3 separate regions of the Homo sapiens genome follow, and regions 2 and 3 are each linked to region 1. The links are contacts of gene promoters, found by promoter capture Hi-C in blood cells and fetal thymus (Javierre and others, 2016). All regions are on one chromosome and are shown on one strand. Each heading gives the region's core, a stretch centred on a gene start or on the middle of the fragment in contact. The rest is flanking DNA. Distances are from core to core; before and after follow the strand shown. Region 1 holds the start of LRP1 (LDL receptor related protein 1). Region 2 overlaps NACA (nascent polypeptide associated complex subunit alpha). Region 3 overlaps HSD17B6 (hydroxysteroid 17-beta dehydrogenase 6).

Region 1 (4,824 bases), core at 1,408-3,907:
GGTCATCTCCATTCTCTGGAAAGTAAACAAGAAAGTTCAATGTTGATGGACCCTGAGGCAAGAGGGCAGGGGTTAGGGATAAGGGATCCCCTAGGCTGCCTCTGGATAGAGTTGAACTTACATTTCTATGCAATTCCCCTTTCTCACCACCCTGTACCCAAGAGTGGGGTGGAGCTGATTATTTATATTCCCACTCCCAAGGCAGAAATATTGGTGTGTGTTTGGGGAGGGGTCCTCTCCTGGGGCTTTGGATAGTTTGATCTGAGCTGGAGATACAGAGGGGGCGTGGGTGAACATTTTAAGAAAGGGTAGGGAGATAGTTAAGGAGAACATGTCCAGTCTCTCTCTTCCACTAACTTGGTGTGGCAAATAGAACTCCTTTAGAGCCCTGGGAGTGATGCTATCTGGGGTCCCTTCCTGACCTTCCCTGCTCTCCACAGAAACCCTCTTGCTTCTGCCTAACTCTAGCCACCCTCCTTCAAGGGGCTCCTGATGGGTCTCTCTCTCTCTCAAATTTTTTTTCTATTCCTCCCAGAAGCGGCTGCAACCCCAATCTCCCTGCCTCGATTTCCCTTCTCACCTCACAGGGCTGAGAACAAGAGAAAAACACATGATAATGACAGGAGTTATAGGCAGAAGCCGGCTGTGCGGCATCTGGAGGATATTCAGGAAAAGCCCCTCTCCTCCTCCGGGGCAGCTAATTGGTGGGGTGGGGGTGGGGGGTAGAGAGTCCCCAAGATGGCACAACTGAGGGACACTAAATATGTTTTTTGGGGACACAGCTGCTTCCTGACCCTGTAAGTCTCCTCCCCCAATTGAAGCAAGTTAGGGAGAGGGAGGGAGATAATCTGGTTTCAGAGAAAAACTTTCCCAATCCCAATCTGGCAAGACAGAGGAGGGGGTGTATGATGGTATCCAGCCCAGTTTTGTCTTTGGATGAGAGGGCTAAGATGACAGGAGGGGATGAGATCCCACCCCTTCTCAAATCAGGGACCTAGCCCAGCCCAACCCCATGACCCCAGCTTAATGCTTAAAGCTTGGGCAAGACTTGAACCAGTGACTCACAAGTAGGAGAAAAAAACAGCTGACAAAAAAAGGGAAGAGAGGCACCCCATTTCCCCAAAAGGATGCAGTTCTAGCCTAAGCCTAACTCTGCAATATACAAAGTGTGTGTGTATGGGGTTTTGGGCTTGGAGGGGTGCAGGGAATAAACAGATTTACTAAAGGAGTGTGGGGGCACAGCCATAATCCCCATCCAACCTCCAACTCTCCTTCCAATCCAAACTGTGATGAAGCCAGAAGTCAGGAAGAAGGCAGCCTCCCCCACCCTCCTACCCCAGCATTCCAGGCCATTCTCCAGTCCCCTTCCCCAGTGATGACATCTGACGTTTTTTCATCTCAAAGCTCCCAGGAATTAAGAAGGAAAATTCAAAGTCACATAGTATGGCGAGCTCCCCCTCTCTGCCCCCCAACACAGCCCTACCCCAGGCTACTGACAGAGGCCCTGAGAGGGGGAAGAGCCTACTTCAGCACCCAGGCCTCCAGCCGGGGCTCTGGGGTCGATTCCACGCCCAAGCAGGGGGCCCTCCCTCTCCCCACCCACAGCCTTCCCGGGCCTGCCTGCCCTCTGCCCGGCAGGGTACCCCTGGCCTGGCTCCCCTTTCGAGCTACAGAGGCCAGTGCAAAAGCCACCCCCCCCACCCCCACCCCCTTTTGCAGCCGAACATTGCAAATCCGGATTCCTTCACAATTCAGATGGGGGGTGGGGGGTTGTGAGGATGTAGGGGAGGCGGAGGCCCTCCCCGAACAGAGATAGGAAAAGAAGGCCTCTCCTCCCCAGGATCAGAAAAATGGGGAGCCCTCTTCTCTCTACCCAGGCCTCTGGTCTTTGTTTGTGCTGGGGGGCCCCGGAAGCATCATTTGCCCAGGGCCCCCATCCCCCAAATCGGACCCCATCCCCGCCCCCAGTCGGGCCGCTGCTGTGTCAGCTGGACTGGGATAACAAAAGGCACCCCCTCCCGCGTCTCCCTTCCCCATCCGTATGCAGGAGTGGGGGCTGGGGAGAGGGTGCCCCCAGGGGTCCAAGGGGGACGCGGAATCTCACTCACCGTCGATAGCCGCCGCGACCAGAGCTGAGAGCAGGGGCAGCAGCAGGAGCAACGGCGGGGTCAGCATGGTGTGGGCTGATGCAAGCAGCAGCCCCTTCCCCTCTGGTCCTGCTACTTCTCTCCTTCACCCCCCCCAGTTGGGGGGTCCCCCTTTTCCTCCTTTCCCCCTCCTCCTTCTCTGTTCTTATTCTTTCCTTCGGCAAAGCGCACCAGGGGCGTGGGTGAAGAGGTAGAGTTCCGAGCCCCTTGGGGAGGGCCTGCTGACGGGGGTGCGCCCCCTGCCCCGAAATCCAAACCCTTCACCCCACCCCCCCGCTTCACTCCTCGCTGCTCTTTCCCCCTCCCCGGGCGAAGCTCACAGCCCCATCTCGGAGCCGCCTCCGGCTGCAAAAATGCACAATTGGGAGGAGGCGGGGAGGGGGGGTGGGGGGCGTGGACCGGGTAGGGGAGCCTTTGGAGGGGGCTTGATGGAGCTCTGGGGGCTCCCCTTGTTTCCGCCTCCTCAGTGCATGGGCCTGGAGCTCGCACCGCTGTTCCCCGGACTGAAGTGCCGAGGGGGGGGCTGATGGGGGAGAGGGAGGGGACGGGTTGAGGAGGGAGGGAGGGAAGGGGCGGGGAAAGAAAAAAGGTTGGTGGGTGGGGGGAGAAAGAGCTACGCGGCAATCCAGTGAGTGCGCATGCGCCGATTTGACGCGCTGCCCGGGGGAGGGCGACGCGGACCCGCGACAGGGTTCGGAGTTCTGGAAAGCGGTCCAAGAGTGAGGGTCCCGGGGACTCGCTGGCTAGTTTGGGGCCTGGGGCGCCCTCTCCCCTGGCTGGGCCCTCCTCCCTGGTGCTCCAGAGAGCAGAAGGGGTCGAGGGTGGGATTGGGCAGTGGGCGGAGAGCTGAGCGGCTCCCCTTTGAAACTCAGTGTCATACTCTAGGATTTCAGGCTCCCTCCGGGGGCGTCCGGGACTCAGTGGTCTGGGCCGAGGCTCGATTTTCTAGGGGAACCCTGAAGGTGCCTCCTCTGCCCGGGGTGGGGACAGGGACCGCCAGTCCGCGGGGAAGGTGCAGGGAAAGGCTGAGCTTTGATTTGGAGACTTTGGAAGACCGGACTGGGATTGGGGCCTGCGAAGGAGGGGGCGGGGTTGGGGAGGGACCGCGAGGACCCGCCCCCACCTCGCTCCCGGGCTCGGAGTAAACAGGGACACCCGAGGGGACACGCCGGAGCTTGTCCGCCCGCGTGGGGCTCGGGGATGGAGCCCACCTTAGTACCCGCCCGCCCTGCTCGCCCAGCCCTAGGCGCGGGAGGGGCAGGCCCTGGTTTGGAGGGAGGTGAGTCACCAGCGGGTGGGGTTGAGGAAAGGCCACCCCCTTTCGCCCAAGAAGTCGGGGCTCATTTATTTTTCTGTTTTTTTTTTTTTTTTTTTTTTTAATACCTTCTGACTGGCTTGCCATCAAGTTAGGGTTTTAGATTCCGAGCGCCAGGATTTGGAATAAGATGAGGGACTCTGGACCTTCGTTTCCAGGCCTCGGGTTCCAAGGAGGTGTCTGCTGAGCGCCGGACCTTTGTCCCCAGGCTCAGCCCACACGGGAATGATACTTTGCAGAAGGCAGGCGCCAGGCGGTTCCCAGGGGCCAGTGAACGTGCTTTTGGTCACTGCCCCCTTCTGGGCGGCGTTTTATGGCTGTTACCTTAGTGTCTGACTTTCTAGGTGTCTGCATGTCAGAGTTCAAGGAGCGGGGCAGACGACGTCGGCTGCCAAAAATTGACGCTGGAGAGGAGGGACTGTTCCCCCTTTTACGTTCTAGTTACGGAAAAGTCCCCACTCCAGTCTGTCCTTGGCAGAAACAGGAGCAGCACGAAGGACTTGCCTCCTAATGACAGTGAGCTCAACCTTTAGCTTCTTCCAGCCGGCTTTGCTCAGCGCGGTGGCCACCTGCCTTTAGTCTCCTGGGCTAGAAACCTCAGACTTTATGCCAACTCAAGGGGGCCTTTCCTTCCTATATCCAATCTTGCCAGCCTGTGCTCCAGGCTTGTCATTTTTTTCCTCTGAAGTATATCTCAGATTTCCTCCATTTCCACTGCCAGAGAGTTGCTCCAGGCAGGAACGGGGTCTTATTTCTCCTTTTATCCAGCTCCCATGGCCCAACACAATGTGAGACGCACTATGCGGACTCACCAAATGCCTACGAGGTTCCTCCCAGGGCCCCTCCCAGTATTGGGATCCAAGTGAAATCAGGTCGAAACAGACTTTAGACAGCTTGACAGCTTTGAGAGGAAAACGGTATCTGGAGCAACCACATGTAGCCTGAGGGCTTGAAGGGGCTTTCCTCCCTCCCCCTACCCATCTGTCAGGTGAATCTTCCAAAAACTGCTTTCCCGGTGTCTCTTCCTTGCTGGGGAACCTCTAGTGGGTGTCTATAGACCAGTCAAATGTGAACTCCTCTTCAGTCATGGCTTTCCAAAACCTGGCCTCAGTCAGCATGCACTTCTCACTTGCAACCTCCCATCCCCTGCTGTCTCCTGAATGTGAATGTGTATTTTTATTAACTTTATATTGTTAAAAAAAAAAGAAAGAAAGAAAAGATAATACCTAGTGGTTAAAAAAAGTACAGGAAGGTAAAAAGTAAAAGGAAACTTGATGCTCTCCACACCCCCATTTTTCAGCTGCACCCTCAGAGTAACTTCTACTAACAGTTCTTCAGGTCTCCCCTACCAGCAGAGGTTTC
Region 2 (4,824 bases), core at 1,223-3,722, 410 kb after region 1:
GCAATTCCTGTCCCTTTTTGGAGTTACAGTAGAGTTGCTTATAGTTGAAAGCATAAAGTTTCTTCCCACCTGTTTGATTTTAACAGCTGAAGGGATTAATACAGCTGCTAGGAAGGACAATAGGGGGCTCTAAGCTGGAGTATAAACAATATGAAATTCTTGAAGTACAAGGGGCTTAAGGAAGGGAAAAAATAAAGTACTGTTCTCTAAAGATTCTGTAATTTCAGTACAAAACGAGATTTTAGAGATTGTGTCATTGAACAACTTAATTTTACAAATACGAAGATTTGAAATTCAGATGAATTTAGAATAATCTGATTCAAGCTTCAAAACTAATGCATTTACTTCTGAAACAGTCCTTAATGCTATTAAACGTATTCCTGAATAGTCTGAGTTGCATAGTAGGCTTATATTAAGGAAGTACCAATGATAAATACACAAGGTTTTATCTGTAATGATAGTCTATTAGAATGAAGAAGGAAGCTCAAGGAATTGTTGATGGTGTCAAAGCAAGTATTTGAGTGCTTATTCCATTTGAGGTCCAGTCAGAAGAAAACATATTCCATGTTTTTAATTCTGATTCATTATGTTTGGTAGCGTTTTCCTGTAATCGTTAGACTTTGGCCTACCCACTCTCCAGGAAAAACTAGTTGAGCCACCTTGTCTTTTCCATGGTAGGATGCCATAAGAACTTCAGAATTACTGGTTGAGTGAATTTTGAATTTGAATTTTGGTACCACGGGCTTCCCCCCCGCCCCCCTTAACATTCCCTTCTAAGCATTGAGCATTTGTTGATCCAATTCTGTGTTACCTCCTGAATGCCAGAGATACTGTCTTACTGTCATGCCAAACATTGGTGTATTTTGACATAATGAAACACTTAAATTCCAAGTTAAGGAGTGGGGATCCAGTGTATTCTCGCCACTCCAATTGTCTTCTTTGGTTTGTTTTGTTTTGAGACGGAGTCTCACCCTGTCACCCAGGCTGGAGTGCATGCAGTAGCGCGATCTTGGCTCACTGCAACCTCCACCTCCTGGGTTCAAGCCATTCTCCTGCCTCTGCCTCCTGAGTAGCTGGTATTACAGGTGTACACCACCACGCCCAGCTAATTTTTGTATTTTTAGTAGAGACGGGGTTTCACCATGTTGGTCAGGTCGGTCTGGAACTCCTGACCTCGTGATCCGCCCTCCCAGGCATCCCGAAGTGCTGGGATTACAGGCATGAGCCACTGTTACAGGCTCTCCAATTCTCTTCTTCCAAAATAGCACCACAATCTGGTTTAACAAGTTAGGTTACAGTTTCATAATACAGTCCCTACCCTTGTGAGTAAGCTCTCTGCCTGGAGGTCTAATTCATGTCTAATTCATCTTGGATTGATGTCTGAAGAATTAACATCACCTAGGAAGGTTTATAGAGACTATTACAGTCCTTTTGTGGTTGGTTTTCTTGTTTGGGTTTTGTGAGTAAGTAAACTGGTAAGGTATAAAGAAGCTAAGTGACTTTAATACTTGATATTAAATTCTGAAGTGTTTCAACTTTAGGAAGAACTGAATTGTGCTGTGCACCTCCTTCCCAAAACTATTCTAACAGAGTCAGATGTTTCCTAGCCTAGTGGAAGCCTGAAAGTATAAAAGCCTGTGTTTTCTTATTCAGTTCAGATTCCCCATCATCGTCACTGCTCACTAACTTCTTTGTTCCAGTTTTCAGTATCTTTTCTGTTCATGATATTTGGGTGGACAGAGTAGCACAGCTGTTCTTCTCGTGGGAATTCTGTTGGCTGTGAGAAAGACTTGGGAATACAGTCCATTTCAAGAAGTAAGGGGAGGGCACAACTGGGAAAGGATAGAAAGCATGTTGTTCTCAACCTACCAAGAGTCTGTGCTCCCCATTTAGAGATAGGCTGCTCTTAGACTGTTCTCCTCACCCTAAAATAGTTGGTTTACTTTGGTAGAACTTGGGGAAGTGTGAGAAATTAGGAGGGGAATGTCTTCTCACTTGACCACTGAAAAATGTTTGGGGAAGGTTGTTGTTGCCTGTCACCTTTATCTAATCCTGCGTGGTGACTTAGACTGTCAGATTTTAAACTCCAGTGTTTCCTAGGAGGCATGTTGTACCAAGTTGGGCTGCATAACTCACCTTTTTTCTCCTCCCCCTCCCCCTTTCTTTATCTCCTTTTGCCTTTCTCCAGCTGTGCTACCTATGTCTTCAGCCTTGAGTGTCACTGCTGCCTTAGGGCAGCCTGGACCTACCCTCCCCCCTCCTTGCTCTCCTGCCCCACAACAGTGCCCTCTCTCAGCTGCTAACCAGGCTTCCCCATTCCCTTCCCCCTCTACTATTGCCTCGACCCCTTTAGAAGTTCCTTTTCCCCAGTCATCCTCTGGAACAGCCCTACCTTTGGGAACTGCCCCTGAAGCCCCAACCTTCCTACCAAACCTAATAGGGCCTCCCATCTCCCCAGCTGCCTTAGCTCTAGCCTCTCCCATGATAGCTCCAACTCTGAAAGGGACCCCTTCCTCTTCAGCTCCCTTAGCTCTGGTTGCCCTGGCTCCCCACTCAGTTCAGAAGAGTTCTGCTTTTCCACCTAACCTTCTTACTTCACCTCCTTCAGTGGCTGTAGCTGAGTCAGGGTCAGTGATAACTCTGTCAGCTCCCATTGCTCCCTCAGAACCAAAGACTAATCTTAATAAAGTTCCCTCTGAGGTAGTCCCTAATCCAAAAGGCACCCCCAGCCCTCCATGTATAGTCAGTACTGTTCCTTACCACTGTGTGACTCCCATGGCCTCTATTCAATCTGGAGTGGCCTCCCTTCCTCAGACAACACCCACAACTACCCTAGCCATCGCTTCCCCTCAAGTCAAAGATACCACCATTTCCTCAGTTCTGATTTCTCCACAAAACCCAGGAAGCCTCAGCCTGAAGGGGCCTGTTAGTCCACCTGCTGCCTTATCTCTTTCAACTCAGTCTCTTCCTGTGGTGACCTCTTCTCAAAAGACTGCGGGTCCCAACACCCCCCCAGATTTTCCCATTTCTCTGGGCTCTCATCTTGCACCTTTACATCAGAGTTCTTTTGGTTCTGTCCAACTTTTAGGTCAAACAGGTCCTAGTGCTTTGTCAGACCCTACAGTGAAGACCATTTCTGTAGATCATTCTTCCACAGGGGCCTCTTATCCTTCTCAGAGATCTGTAATTCCTCCCCTTCCTTCCAGAAATGAGGTAGTTCCTGCTACTGTGGCTGCCTTTCCAGTGGTGGCTCCATCTGTTGACAAAGGTCCCTCTACCATCTCTAGCATAACCTGCAGCCCTTCTGGCTCCTTAAATGTAGCTACCTCTTTTTCATTATCTCCTACAACCTCTCTCATTCTCAAAAGCTCTCCTAATGCCACTTATCATTATCCTTTAGTGGCCCAAATGCCCGTTTCTTCTGTTGGAACCACCCCACTTGTGGTGACTAACCCCTGTACAATTGCTGCAGCACCTACTACTACCTTTGAGGTAGCTACTTGTGTTTCTCCTCCAATGTCATCAGGTCCCATAAGTAACATAGAACCAACTTCCCCTGCTGCCTTGGTTATGGCACCTGTGGCTCCCAAAGAGCCTTCTACTCAAGTAGCAACCACTCTGAGGATACCAGTCTCTCCTCCTCTGCCAGACCCTGAAGACCTCAAAAATCTCCCCAGTTCAGTATTGGTTAAATTTCCAACACAAAAAGACCTCCAAACTGTACCTGCCTCTCTTGAAGGAGCCCCTTTCTCTCCAGCCCAAGCAGGACTCACCACCAAGAAAGACCCTACTGTATTACCGTTAGTCCAGGCAGCCCCTAAAAATTCCCCTTCTTTCCAAAGTACATCCTCTTCTCCAGAGATACCTCTTTCTCCTGAAGCCACCCTAGCAAAGAAAAGCCTTGGGGAGCCTCTCCCTATAGGTAAGCCAGCCAGCAGTATGACCTCCCCTCTGGGTGTTAACTCCTCGGCCTCTGTAATCAAGACAGATTCTTATGCAGGCCCAGACTCTGCTGGTCCGCTTCTCAAAAGTTCTCTCATTACCCCAACAGTGGCTGCATTTCCTTTGGAAAGTGCTGACCCTGCCGGGGTGGCTCCCACAACTGCCAAAGGTACCTCAACTTATACAACTACAGCCAGCCCTTTTCTAGAAGGAACTGTCTCTTTAGCTCCTAAAAACCACCCAGTTAAGGAAGGTACTCTTACTACTTTACCCTTGGTTCCTACAGCTTCAGAAAATTGCCCTGTGGCTCCATCCCCCCAGAATACCTGTGCTCCTCTGGCTACCTTAGTGCTGGCCCCTGAAATCCCAAAGTCTGTGCCCTCACCCTCTCTTCCCCCAGCTGGGACTCCTCCAGGTACAAAAAAGGTTGATGGTATTTCTCATACTTCAGCATTGGCACCTGTTGCTTCCTCTCCCAAAGAGTGCCCAACTGAGGACTCTGGTGCTTCTGCTACTGCATCTTCCAAAGGAACTCTGACTTACCTAGCTGATTCCCCATCTCCTTTAGGGGTTAGTGTGTCTCCTCAGACTAAAAGACCTCCAACCAAGAAGGGTTCTGCTGGCCCTGATACTCCTATTGGAAATCTCTCATCCCCTGTTTCTCCAGTTGAAGCTTCATTTCTTCCAGAGAATAGTCTTTCTTTCCAAGGCTCTAAAGACTCACCAGCCACGACGCATTCTCCCACTCCTCCATCCCCCAAAGGGGCCCCTACTCCCTCAGCTGTGACTCCTCTGTCTCCCAAAGGAGTAACACTACCCCCCAAAGAGACCCCCACTCCTTCAGTGGTGAATCTGCCCTTCCCCAAAGAGGGTCCAGCTACT
Region 3 (4,824 bases), core at 1,252-3,751, 360 kb after region 1:
ACCAAATAGGATAAGTAAGTTCAAAAAGTGGATAAGGATGACAACATTCCAGGCAGTAACAATGTGTACATGAAGGGAGTCGTGAGCAGCACAGAACTTCTTGAGACCTATAAACAATTCTGCATGAGTGCAGAGCAGAACATACATAAGAAGAGACTGGAGATGAGGTAGTGAAGGGCCAAATCATGAAAGGCCTTGTAAGCCACACTACGGAATCTGGATGTTATCCTGTGGACAGAGTATGCTACTAGAAGACATTAAACAGAGTATGCTACTAGAGTCAGGTGGCCAGATTAAGTTTTAGGAAGATTTGTCTCACAATGGCAGTGGAGGATAGATGAAACAGGTGTGGTGAAGGCAGTGAGATCCATTAGGAGATCCAATAGTTTGGGTGAGTTATTGCAGCCAAAGCAATTTGTAAACCTAGACCAATCAGAAGCATTGTTGAAATGAGTGTTCACAGATGCCTATGTTTCTATATGAAATTCTGGAGCAAAGTCCACCATTTTTTAGTAATCTATACATGTTGGCTGAACTAACATAATTCATAACAACATAGGTAGAGGTCAAATATGGGTATGGGCCCGCTAGCATCATAAGGCCTATACCACAACGCCTGCATGAGGCTAGTCTATGCAATTCAAACTCCTTAGTTTGACATGAATGTCCCCAGCACTCTGGCTACTTAGGCTTCTCTCTTGCATCCTACTCTTTAGCCAAAACAAACAACTTTCAGTCCCCTGCAAAGCACAGGCTTTTTACGCCTCTGCATACACTTCTTTCTACTGGAAAGAAGTAGCCCTCATCTACTTGGCAAATAACACTCTTTTTTTTTTCTTTTTTTTTTTTTTTTGAGACAGAGTTTCACTCTTTTTGCCCAGGCTGGAGTGCAATGGCGCAATCTCAGCTCACTGCAACCTCCGCCTCCTGGGTTCAAGTGATTCTCCTTGCCTCAGCCTCCCGAGTAGCTGGGATTACAGGCACGTGCCACCAAGCCGGGCTAATTTTGTATTTTTAGTAGGGAGAGAGTTTTTTACCATGTTGGCCAGGCTAGTCGTGAACTCCTGACCTCAGGTGATCCACCCACCTTGGCCTCCCAAAATGCTGGGATTACAGGCATGAGCCACCACACCCAGCCATAACACTCATCTTTTAAGTCTCAGCCTAATCATCACTTTCATTCAGCAAACATTAATTCAACAACTACTTGAGTCAGACACAGTGTTAGGCACTGATACACAAGAGTGAACAATACATAGTCCATTTTTCATTGAATTCACAGTCTCATTATGAAGACTGACAACAATGCATTATAACAGAAGTAAAAACAGGAGGCTGCTGGAACACTCAGGAGAGGCTTCTAAGGCAGTTTAGAGAGGTCTGAGAAGCTTCCTAGAGAGAATAAAATATAAGTTGAGATCTACAGGTGTACTAGTCCGTTTTCACACAGCTATAAAGATACCACCCGAGACTGGGTAATTTATAAAGAAAAGAGGTTTAATTGATTCACAGTTCCACATGGCTGGGGAGGTCTCAGGAAAATTACAATCATGGTAGAAGGGGAAGCAAACACATGATGGCAGGAAAGCAAAAGCAAGCAAGAGAGGAACTACCAAACGCTTATAAAACCATCAGCTCTCATGAGAACTCAACATGGGGGAAACCACCCCCATGATCCAATCACCTCCCACCAGGTTCCTCCCTAAACACCTAGGAATTACAATTCAAGATATGATTTGGGTAGCGACACAAAGCCAAACCATATCAAAAGGATAATTAAAAAATAATAGCTAGGCCAGGCACACTGGCACATGCCTGTAATCTCAGCATGTTGGGAGGCCAAGGCAGGCAGATCACCTGAGGTCAGGAGTTTGAGATCAGCCTGGTCAACATGGCGAAACCGCATCTCTACAAAAATACAAAAATTAGCCAGGCATGATTGTGGGCGCCTGTAATCCCAGCTACTTGGGAGGCTGAGGCAGGAGAATCGCTTGAACCCGGGAGGTGGAGGTTGCAGTGAGCCGAGATCATGCCATTGCATTCCAGCCTGGGTGACAGAGCGAGATTCTGCCCATCTCAAAAAAAAAAAAAAAAAAAAAAAATTGCAACCCTTGCCGAGCACTTGCTGTGTATCAGGCTCTGTTCTAAGATGTCACATATATTAACTTTTTGAATTCTCACAAGAACCCTACAAGACAGGTCCCATCATTATTCCTCTGTGTCAGTTCAGATACCAAGACAAAATTAGACATGCAAGAGATTATGGGGGAAACACCCTCAGAGGACAAAGGGGGAAGGCACAGGAATAGGTGGTAATGCAGATCTGACACCTCGGGAAGGAGAGGGGAACAGAAGGAGGAGAAGATAGGAAGAGCTTTAGACTGTAGTAGAGCCCCAAGAAAGTCTCAGCCAGGCCCATGAGCCTGAGCAAAGACTGCCACTGGAGAAGTTCCACACTGGGCTGAACTGGTCCAGCTCCAGTACTGCCATCCTTCTGGTCATTGGCTGACCAGTGCCCAAGAGGAGCGTGCCTCAGTGTAAATACCACAGCAGATCGGAGGGTGCCACAACTGGAGGCTGGAAGTCAACCTCACTCCTCATAGCAGATTTTCTTGAGTGATCTGAGCAATGCACCTCAATGGCTGCCACACTGTTTCATAGGTGAGCACTGAGAGATTACATACAGTACTAGACAGAGGGGACAAAAAATGGTCCAGGCAAGAGACTTTCCTGCCCTGATTTAACCTGCCCCATGGTCTAACAGAATTGACTATACCCTCCTTAGTGTCCCCATTGTGGCCTGGGTTTATCATGATGCCTGCTGTACTTCATTGCACTGCTCTTCCCCATTTTTAGACTATAAGGCCCTTGAGAGCCCAGGTTACATATTAGTCTGCACCTGGCCCAGTGAATGGCACATAGCAGATACTTAATAAATGTTAGATAAATTAAGTTATACTAAGTAAAAATATCCTGATAAAAAATTGAGAGAAAAAAAGCAGGGAGAATGAGCCAGAGAAGTAGGAAAAAGCAAGCTGATGAAAGCCAAGGAAAGGGGGGCTTAATGAGGATCAGCAATGCAACCAGGAGGTCTGCTGGGTAATAGGAGGGCACTGGTGCTCTTAACGGGAAGACTCAGACAGTGAAGGGCACAGAAGCCAATCTTCAGTGGGCTGCTGCATGAATTGGAGGGCAGGAAGTGGAGCCGAGTGGAGACTCTTTTTCAAAAGCCTGGTCTGGGAAGGAGAGGAGAGAAGGCAGTAAGTAGCGAGAGGGCAACTTAGGGTGTAGGCAAGTAAAGTGGAAGGAGACAGTGAAAGGGAGAAAACAGTGGAGAGAGGCATATATTGCTCCTCCCTCCCCCACCATCTTCTCTTTCTCTCCTTTTCCCCTCTTCCCTCTGTCTCTCTCCTTCCTTCTCTGAAGCCCTTTGCCTCTCTCCAATCTGAGAGCTCTGTGTTCTCTAGCCAGCTGCCTCTGTTCTGCCTAAGTGGCATTCCCTGGTGCACTACAGTAACACAGAGAGCTTCAACCTGACTGTTTATTGACTAAAAGGTAATTTTCTGTTGCCAGTCAAAGATGAAAACGTATTTCCCCCATTAGAGAGAAGCTTGGCCCTCACAGTTTCCCCGGGCATTACTATTCAGCCATCGCATGCCTAGCAGCAAGAAGACCTGCAGAAGAGATACACCTGGCGGAATCCCAAACCCTAGGCCAAACCTGAATGTGCCTCGAATATTTCAAATGTCCAAATACCCGAAGTGGCGTGGCCTGCTTGCTTTTACAAACCATTCATCTGCAAAAGCTGTGCAATTACTTTACGTTTTTGCCTTTGACTCAAATTATTTATACACAGTACTTAAGCTGCTATTTCTTGATTTACCAATTTTTGACATTCTCAATTAACTTCCTGCTATGGTAAATAAGAATTCAGCTTTCTTACATCATATTGTCAGTCTCTTCCTTTCTCATCTACACTATGCTATCTGGTTAATTTTATTTAATGAGTTTTGAGGTCGAGCCTAGAAAACACCTTCATAATCACACATGCATAGGTTAAGAACTTCCACTGTTTATTTCAGGTCTGATCCCCATCTTGGGCTTCATCATTGCTTGAAGCTACTCTCCCACAAAGATCTTGAAAAGCTAGGCCAGGCACGGTGGCTCACGCCTGTAATCCCAGCACTTTGGGAAGCTGAGGCAGGCAGATCACCTGAGGTCAGGAGTTCGAGACCAGCCTGGGCAACATGACTAAGCCCCATCTCTACTAAAAATACAAAAATTAGCTGAGTGTGGTGGCAGTGCCTGTAGTCCCAGCTACTTGGGAGGCGGAGGCACAAGAATCGCTTAAACCTGGGAGGCAGAGGTTGCAGTAAGCCAAGATCACGCCACTGCACTCCAGCTTAAGTGACAGAGTGAGACTCTGCCTCAAAAAAAAAAAAAAAAACCTTGAAAAGCTGAAACTGCCCTCTCTGCACAGCCCCATCCTATCTTTGGGGCTCTTCCCCTCCCCCCACTCCCCTCTACTTCTTTCTTCCTGCTCTGCCTTCCTTTTCCTCAGTCTCTCTCTATTACTGCAATCCTCTCACAGTTTCATTTGCCTCCTTATTCAGCACAGGTCTCATAGTTGGCCATTTTAGGGGTGCTTCACTAGCACCCCAAAGCCTTTACCATCCATGTTCTCTAGCTGCCAGCTGCCAAGTGGTGCTAGAGAAAGACCAGAAAACAAACTTTTATACAACAAATCAATGTTATCCTATCTCAGCTGCGCCCCCTCCCCCCCGCCCACCGCCAATATAAGGCAAACCTTCTGTTTGCCTCCAT

Evidence for each region. The method cuts DNA at HindIII sites, captures the fragments that hold promoters and counts their contacts. A CHiCAGO score of 5 or more calls a contact.
Region 2: a fragment that was not itself captured here is called in contact with the fragment with the promoter of LRP1 in region 1 in 7 of 17 cell types (M2 macrophages, erythroblasts, M0 macrophages and 4 more); the score reaches 5.7 in M2 macrophages.
Region 3: a contact is called between a fragment that was not itself captured here and the fragment with the promoter of LRP1 in region 1, in 5 of 17 cell types (naive B cells, M0 macrophages, total B cells and 2 more). The highest score is 6.2, in naive B cells.

Annotation. Positions count from the first base shown.
Region 1 is chr12:57,126,316-57,131,139 of GRCh38, reverse strand. It overlaps LRP1 (LDL receptor related protein 1), which reads right to left and starts at 2,657. Exons shown (of 89, transcript NM_002332.3): 1 at 2,109-2,657. The coding sequence starts at 2,175. RefSeq lists an enhancer at 2,997-3,650. The HindIII fragment of the contact is 5,123 bases long and covers 1,039-4,824 here.
Region 2 is chr12:56,718,824-56,723,647 of GRCh38, reverse strand. NACA (nascent polypeptide associated complex subunit alpha) reads left to right here. Exons shown (of 9, transcript NM_001365896.1): 3 at 2,189-4,824. Among named protein-coding and RNA genes, the nearest start is that of NACA, 4.1 kb to the left of the region's middle. RefSeq lists an enhancer at 2,713-2,832. The HindIII fragment of the contact is 4,291 bases long and covers 327-4,617 here.
Region 3 is chr12:56,768,727-56,773,550 of GRCh38, reverse strand. The region is part of intron 1 of HSD17B6 (hydroxysteroid 17-beta dehydrogenase 6); the gene reads right to left. Among named protein-coding and RNA genes, the nearest start is that of HSD17B6, 7.8 kb to the right of the region's middle. The HindIII fragment of the contact is 2,222 bases long and covers 1,391-3,612 here.